Regions from separate parts of the Homo sapiens genome. Here region 1 is linked to region 2. Evidence: promoter capture Hi-C in 16 types of primary human blood cells and fetal thymus (Javierre and others, 2016). All regions are on one chromosome and are shown on one strand. The core of a region is centred on a gene start or on the middle of the fragment in contact, and the rest is flanking DNA. Distances in the headings are between cores, read along the strand shown.

Evidence for each region. The method cuts DNA at HindIII sites, captures the fragments that hold promoters and counts their contacts. A CHiCAGO score of 5 or more calls a contact.
Region 1: a contact is called between a fragment that was not itself captured here and the fragment with the promoter of PRKAB2 in region 2, in 2 of 17 cell types (neutrophils and fetal thymus). The highest score is 7.7, in neutrophils.

Annotation. Positions count from the first base shown.
Region 1 is chr1:147,908,819-147,912,514 of GRCh38, forward strand. GJA8 (gap junction protein alpha 8) reads left to right here. Exons shown (of 2, transcript NM_005267.5): 2 at 1-451. The coding sequence ends at 439. Among named protein-coding and RNA genes, the nearest start is that of GJA8, 7.9 kb to the left of the region's middle. The HindIII fragment of the contact is 1,559 bases long and covers 472-2,030 here.
Region 2 is chr1:147,170,669-147,174,145 of GRCh38, forward strand. It overlaps PRKAB2 (protein kinase AMP-activated non-catalytic subunit beta 2), which reads right to left and starts at 1,802. Exons shown (of 8, transcript NM_005399.5): 1 at 1,761-1,802; 2 at 1,321-1,499. The coding sequence starts at 1,476. It also overlaps a transcript of CHD1L not described here. RefSeq lists silencers at 1,462-1,731, 1,902-2,131. The HindIII fragment of the contact is 16,401 bases long and covers 1-3,477 here.

The DNA of each region.
Region 1 (3,696 bases), core at 1-2,500, 740 kb after region 2:
GACCAGCCCACTGCCTGCCAAGCCTTTCAATCAGTTCGAGGAGAAGATCAGCACAGGACCCCTGGGGGACTTGTCCCGGGGCTACCAAGAGACACTGCCTTCCTACGCTCAGGTGGGGGCACAAGAAGTGGAGGGCGAGGGGCCGCCTGCAGAGGAGGGAGCCGAACCCGAGGTGGGAGAGAAGAAGGAGGAAGCAGAGAGGCTGACCACGGAGGAGCAGGAGAAGGTGGCCGTGCCAGAGGGGGAGAAAGTAGAGACCCCCGGAGTGGATAAGGAGGGTGAAAAAGAAGAGCCGCAGTCGGAGAAGGTGTCAAAGCAAGGGCTGCCAGCTGAGAAGACACCTTCACTCTGTCCAGAGCTGACAACAGATGATGCCAGACCCCTGAGCAGGCTAAGCAAAGCCAGCAGCCGAGCCAGGTCAGACGATCTAACCGTATGAAGTGACGCCAAAGAAAAAAAAAAAAACGCCCAAGCTTACGTAGGGCAAGATGAAAGGAACAGGTGCCAACATGATCTGAATCTTCTGTCTCCTGTCCTCCCACCAGCCTCTGGTTGGACAGGCACTGCAGCAGGGCAGTGCACTCCAGGCAACTCTAGGAAACAGTCTTTCCCACATCCAGCATAAGGGCTACCAAGATAAACCCATCGACCCACTAAAGTTCCCCAGTCTCATAGGACTACCCCGCTCCTCCAACCCCAGCAGCTATGGGTGACTCTTCTTTCATCCCCATTTCTCCATAGAAACCCTTAAATCGGAATTGGGGTTGCCTCATAGCCTTTTACCCATCTTGTCTCAAGCTCACTAAGCCAGAATCTATCATCCCAGCATTTCTGAAGCAGATACCATGTGACCATATTTCAGGGATCCAGACTCAAAAGCCTACAGAATACAGACAGGTGACATAAGTTGCAAGACAGGCCTGTTCTAATGCAAGGGAGAGAATGGGGCTGTGAAAGTTGGAAAGCAGGGGCAGCTGCTGCTCACTTCCAGACAATGAGTACCATGAAGTGTTACCTGGTCTTTCTGATTTTTCAAGGGAAGCCAGAAATCCAACCTTTTTTTTAGACAGGCTCTCTCTTGCCCAGGCTGGGGTGCAGTGGCACAATCTCAGCTCACTGCAGCCTCAACCTCCCAAGCTCAAGTGATCCTCTCACCTTAGCCTCCCAAGTAGCTGGGACTATAGGCGCACACCACCACACCCGGCTAATTTTTGTATTTTTTGTACAGATGGCGTTTCACCATGTTGCCTAGGCTGATCTCAAACTCCTGGGTTCAAGTGATCCACCCACCTCAGCCTCCTATAATGCTGGGATTACAGGTGTATGCCACCGTGCCTGGCCCATGAAATCTAAATTTTAATTGAAATTTTCAAAATTGTTAATGTTGGCAACTAAATTTTAAATACAACATGTGGACCAAATGAAATATGTGCAAGCCACATTTAACCTGTGAGGCACCAATTTGCAATATCAGCTTATGCTAATTAGCCCAGCTTTCCTATGGAATCGGTCTTATTATTTATGGTCTCAACTTGTTTCTGTGGCTCCTAAACCTTATTTCACTACTTTGGAGTGTTTTGTTTAAATCATCAGTCCAGGAGATACCTAAAGTTCTCACTGACCATTCTTTTGGCTCATTGTAGCCCCTGGGTTCTGAAGCAATGATATGCTTTGTATTGGTGGGAATTCTGCCCTGGGTACCATCAGAGAAAGAGAGCAAGTTGCCAAAACTCTCTCTGTGAAATCAAAAGGCTTTGAGGCCTGGTTGTAGTTTGTTTTTCCTGAAGCAAAGAAGATCCTTTCTTTATTCCCCTCTTGCAGCATCAGTGCTCAGCCTAAAATCTATACCTTTTTTCACTAGTGACTAGAAGCAAGCCCAGTTTCGAGCTGGAGGACATCTGCTCACAGGCATGTCCTGGGAAGAGGCAGCTCTCAGACATGATCAAAGGGCCATCAGGGTGGCACCAGAGGGAGCCTCTCACAAAGTGGGTGCTCACACAGCCAGGATCCCAAAGTGGAGTCTCAGGCCAAGCTTCATCCCTGGAAAGGACACAGAGGCTAAAGGGAACAAGAAGAATCTTGAAGGGCTCCTGTCCTCATATTCCCACAACTCACCCTCCTCAAACACAGAGTCTGTTCAGGGGAAATCCTCATGTACACGTACATATTTCATACCAGGAGCAATTTTACCCTCAGCCAATTGATTTCCAGAGCAAGGAGAGAAAACTAAGATGGTTCACCTAAAGCAACACTATGCTTCATGGACTGCAGTGCCAAAGATAGGGTAGGAGGTATAGAAACCAAGTTGACATAGCAGGGACCTGGACAGGAGACCAGCAAGGGGCCCAAAAGGGATACTTAGAAAAACTGCGTTTGTTGTATCTTCCCAACCCCGATCAGCATCATCTCAAAGTATATCAATCCCCTTTGCTGCCCTCTGGTTACCACCTTCCTTTTAAGATATTCATTCAAGATATACCTTTCCAAAGCAGGCCTTTTCCAAAACTATTCCTCCCCCTTGACAAAATTTCCATTCCTTGGTGACCCATTCTAAAGCAAAGTAGTCTAAAAATTAAATTCATTCTAAGGTTTGATTGTTCGGTAACTACTCCTGGGGAAAAAACTGCATTTAAAAGAGAAAGACTAAAATATATTTTTACCTAGGTAACCCAAAGTGACAAACCTTCAGTGGAGGGATGTTGAATAGAAGAGGTATGTTTATCTTGGAGGCACGTGATTTTCTGGCTACTGCTTAATCTTACCCCTAGCAAGCAACGTTATTCTACACAGACTTTCTCCTATATGGTGAGAGAATTAACACAATCCGAGGCCTGAGAACCAGAGAGTGCATCCTTGACTCTAATGGCTGCACTATTGCTCCCATAGTTTTGTTCCTGAAGATGCATTTTAGGAAGAGCCTTATGAATAGCTTGATCATTACCAGAATAAAGTGTCTATCTCAACTAGAGCCTAATACAAAAAAGAAAAAGAAAAACGATATCCTGTTCTAAATAAAACTGCTGTTTGGTACCAGTTGTAGAAATGAGGGCTACTGGTCTCCTTATCTCAGGTGGGACATAAGTGTGTGATAGAGCGTCTTTCCTCAGATGAGGCAGTATCCTGCTTCAATGAACGTACCCACACTGTCCCCACATTTTCCCTCTTAGTCTTCCCAATAAAAGGAGAAGCCTATTTAGGAAGAAACAGACACAGGCATCAAGGGGCTGCATTTTTTTTCTATTTCTGCCATTTAGTAGCTGTATCATTATTGTGCCTTGAGCTCTCTTTACTTCAGTTTTCTGTCTACAAACTAAAGCTGGCATTTGCCACCTACCTACATCCAGGGGTGTCCTAAAGATTGAGTTGGCTGCCAAGCATGAGGCCTGCTGAGTGGTACCATTCCCTGAGAGATTCCTCCAACAGCAGTAAGACTGGGAAGAAGGGCAGGTGGATGGTTTCCATCTGTCCCTCCAACCTGCCTCGTAGTTACCTGGTGAGTTTTTCAACGTGAAATAGACACTCCAGAGATCACTTTTCTCAGAAGAGATTCAAAACAGAATTTAACCCCATATGTTTAGTAGGAACCTGAGGCTCATTGACCTTAATAAATGACTGGAGACAGATTGCCAATTACTTTCATTCTCTGAGAAAGAGGTCCCATCTTAAGCGGCCACACAAACACAGCCAGTTTCCATT
Region 2 (3,477 bases), core at 552-3,051:
TCCCGGGTTCAAGCGATTCTCCTGCCTCAGCCTCCCGAGTAGCTGGGACTACAGGCATGCACCAGCATGCCCGGCTACTTTTTCTGTATTTTTAGTAGAGACGGGGTTTCACCATGTTGGTCAGGCTGGTCTCGAACACCTGACCTCAAATGATCCAACCGCCTCGGCCTCCCAAAGTGCTGGGATTACAGGCGTGAGCCTCTGCGCCAGGCTGTGATGATGTTATCAATTGAGATCCAAAGAAATAAATCATGGAATCCAAATTCCATGTGCTACCAATATGGCAAACAATACTCTATTCACTCTCTAAAGCCCCAGTTCCCTGGGAAGTGATGAAATGATAGGAAACATCAAACACACCCGAATCTCCTCAAGCCCTCCATTTTTCTATCTCATCCAGTCAGTCTACCTGGAGGAATTACTTGTATTTCATGCTGACAGCTCTGAAAGCCATTAGAAACATTAGAATGGTAATCGCTGCTATCAGCTCCATCTGTCCTTTCTTACAGAGTGAAAACAAGTTGTTCTCTTCCTGAAAGTCCTTGGAATTGAGAGCAAGGTCTTCAGGGCAGCTGTGGGTTGTCGTTTTTTTAGCCACGCAACATTTTGAAGTACTACTGAGGAGTAAACAAGTCGTGGAATCATTGGCTCTTCCACCTACGGAGCAGCAGCGGGGCGTGAAAGAGGCACAGCCTCAGCCACCACAACTATAAAGTATGGGACAAAAATTAAGCAGTCAACTAAATGATGTCCTTAATTGATCCCCAAGACTAGGAGAAAGTATTCAATAAGCAAGTAGTTGCTGCTTACAGCCGTGCCAAAAGGGAAGAGGATCACAACTGTAGAGCTGCTAGAAGAGCAAAAATGATACTGATACATAGAAATTTTCAGAAAAAGAATTTCATTTAGCCACCTCAGGGCAAAGGTGAGAAACTACCACCTATGGTCAGCAACTCGTGCAACCTACCCTCTGAAGTTGTCCACCAGGGATTACAAACTACAAATTCAGCAACGCTATGGAAGAGAGCCATTCGTGCTCGGAGGATCGGGGATGGGGGGATGTCTATTGTCCCCATCCTAAAAATGTGGCCAACAGATTAGTCAGAACACCAGGAAAGCAAGAACTCCGCCTCTTTATCCTATTTTGAGGCGGCACTTCAAGAGGAATTATCATCCAACACCTCTGTCCCCGATAAATCCCTTTAATTCAAAAAACCATAGCCCGGTTCGGCGCGGTAGAAAAGAACCAAGAAAGGGAAGAGGAGCCCAGAAATCAACCCGCTGCAGTACTGACACCAACTGCGGGCATGGGACGCTTACCTTGGAGTCAGGGAGGCTGAACACGCTGGGGTCGTCCGTACTCCCCACCATGATCTTGTGCTCCTTCCCCGGGGCATGGCCGCCTGCGCCCTCGGAGCGTGCAGCCTTGGCGCCGTGGCGCTCCCCGGACACCCGGTCGCTGGTGGTGTTTCCCATGGCTGCAGCTCGTCGGGGACCACCTACCGCGGGGAACGACACCGGGCTGGGAACACCTCAGCCGCCGCGTCAGGGGCGCCCCCCGGCCCCGCCCCTGCGCCTCGGGACAGGGCAAGGGATTCCCCGCCCCAGGGAAGCCGAGCCCTGGAGCCCTCTCCCTCCTGGCCTGCGGGAACGCCTGCAAATACCCCGGTGCCCTCACTGGCCCTAGCTCAGGAAACCCGCTATCGGGACCTCCCCCGCGTCCCCGCGCTCACTGCCAGGGGCGCCCCCACTCCAGTCACCTCGGGCGATGCGCTCCCTCCTCCAAGGGCCACTGATGTGATGGCTGTTCTGCAGATCAGGCCACCAATAAAGTTATTGAAATTGAAGCCGCACCCCTCGCTGGCGACCAGCGATTCCTCCTAAAATGGCTACAAGGCCGGCGGCGCGGAGTCCGCCCAGTGCGCGTTCCCTGCGGCCTGCAGCCTCGGCGCCCGGGACCCGCCGGCCTCTCTAGCCGCCGCCGCCGCCGCCTCGATGGTGGGCAGTCGCACGCAGCCTCCAGCGCCAGGAGGGGGCGCCAGGCAGGGCCTGTCCCGCCTGGGGAGACTGCGCCCGGGATAATAGGAGCGCTTGGCCTCTGAGACTACCCGGCAGAAGGGACGTCCCCAAATGACACTCGGAGGCCGCCTCCCTGGGCTCCGGTGCTCGGTGCCGGGAGGAGCGGCACGGCTTTCTACCCCGCCTCAGGTGCGCCAGCACGTTTTCTGGGCAGCATCTGTGTGTTAGGCGACCGGAGAGGTGGGTTCCTTATAGGGAATAAGAAAACTGAAACTGACTTCCAACTGCAGGCAGAAGGAAGCAGTGGTCATTGCTGGAGGTTAAAACTGTTCTGACCGGGCGCAGTGGCTCACGCCTGTATTCCCAGCACTTTGGGAGGCTGAGGCGAGCAGATCACGAAGTCAGGAGATCAAGACCATCCTGGCCAACAAGGTGAAACCCCGGCTCTACTAAAAATACAAAAATTAGCTGGGCGTGGTGGCGCGCGCCGGAAGTCCCAGCTACTTGGGAGGATGAGGCAGAAGAATCGCTTGAACCCGGGAGGCGGAGGTTGCGGTGAGCCGAGATCGCGCCATTGCACTCCAGCCTGGCGACTCAGCGATACTCCGTCCCCCTCTCCCCGCCCCAAGAAAAATCTGTTCAGTGGGGAGCGACAAGGAAGGAGCTTTCAGCCCGACTGGGGTCGCAGGGAAGAATTCAAGATGGCGTGTTTAGGAGCTCTAGCTCCTTGACAAATTAGTAAAATGTTAGTCTTAGGAGAAGAACGAAAAGGCTCTCCTAGGCTAAGAAACAGCATACACAGTGAGAAACCTCAGAAGAAATAAAATTCAAGGAAGATAGCAACAACGAAAACATCAGAAGGAACACTAAAGGTATAAAAAGGGCAAAGACAGCCCTAGGGTTGGGAGGGATCCAGGTTTTTTATGAAAATTAGTGGAATCCCTAAGGTACTTACCTTTGTATTATAAGTATTTGCATGTCTCCTTCTAGAAACGTTTATCACTCTGTGTTACACAGACCAGCAGTGTTGGCGTCAACTGGGAGCCTGTTAGAAATGCAGAATCAGGCCCCATCCCCAGGGTTCTGAATCTGCATTTTAACAAGATCACATTAAAGTGTGTGAGAAGCAATGCTTTGACAGCTGGCAGAGAGCAGATCCAGATTTGATACCTTTTCATATTCTGCATGTACCTTATACAGAGTAGGCTTTTGCATTTGCGGAATGAAGGATACAGGAATACTGTTTACTGTAATCCATTTCTAACCAGATATGCCACTTAGGCTTAAACACGGCCAATGATGGGGAACCCCAAGTTACATAGGCCACCCTTTCTGAGTGAGCAGCTCTATTTGCTGAAACGTTCATTTTTATATTATGAAGTTGACATCCCACTTAAGTACAACAAATTCACTACTCCCCTATTCTTTGCTCTGCCTCTTATAAACTCATTCTTTGGC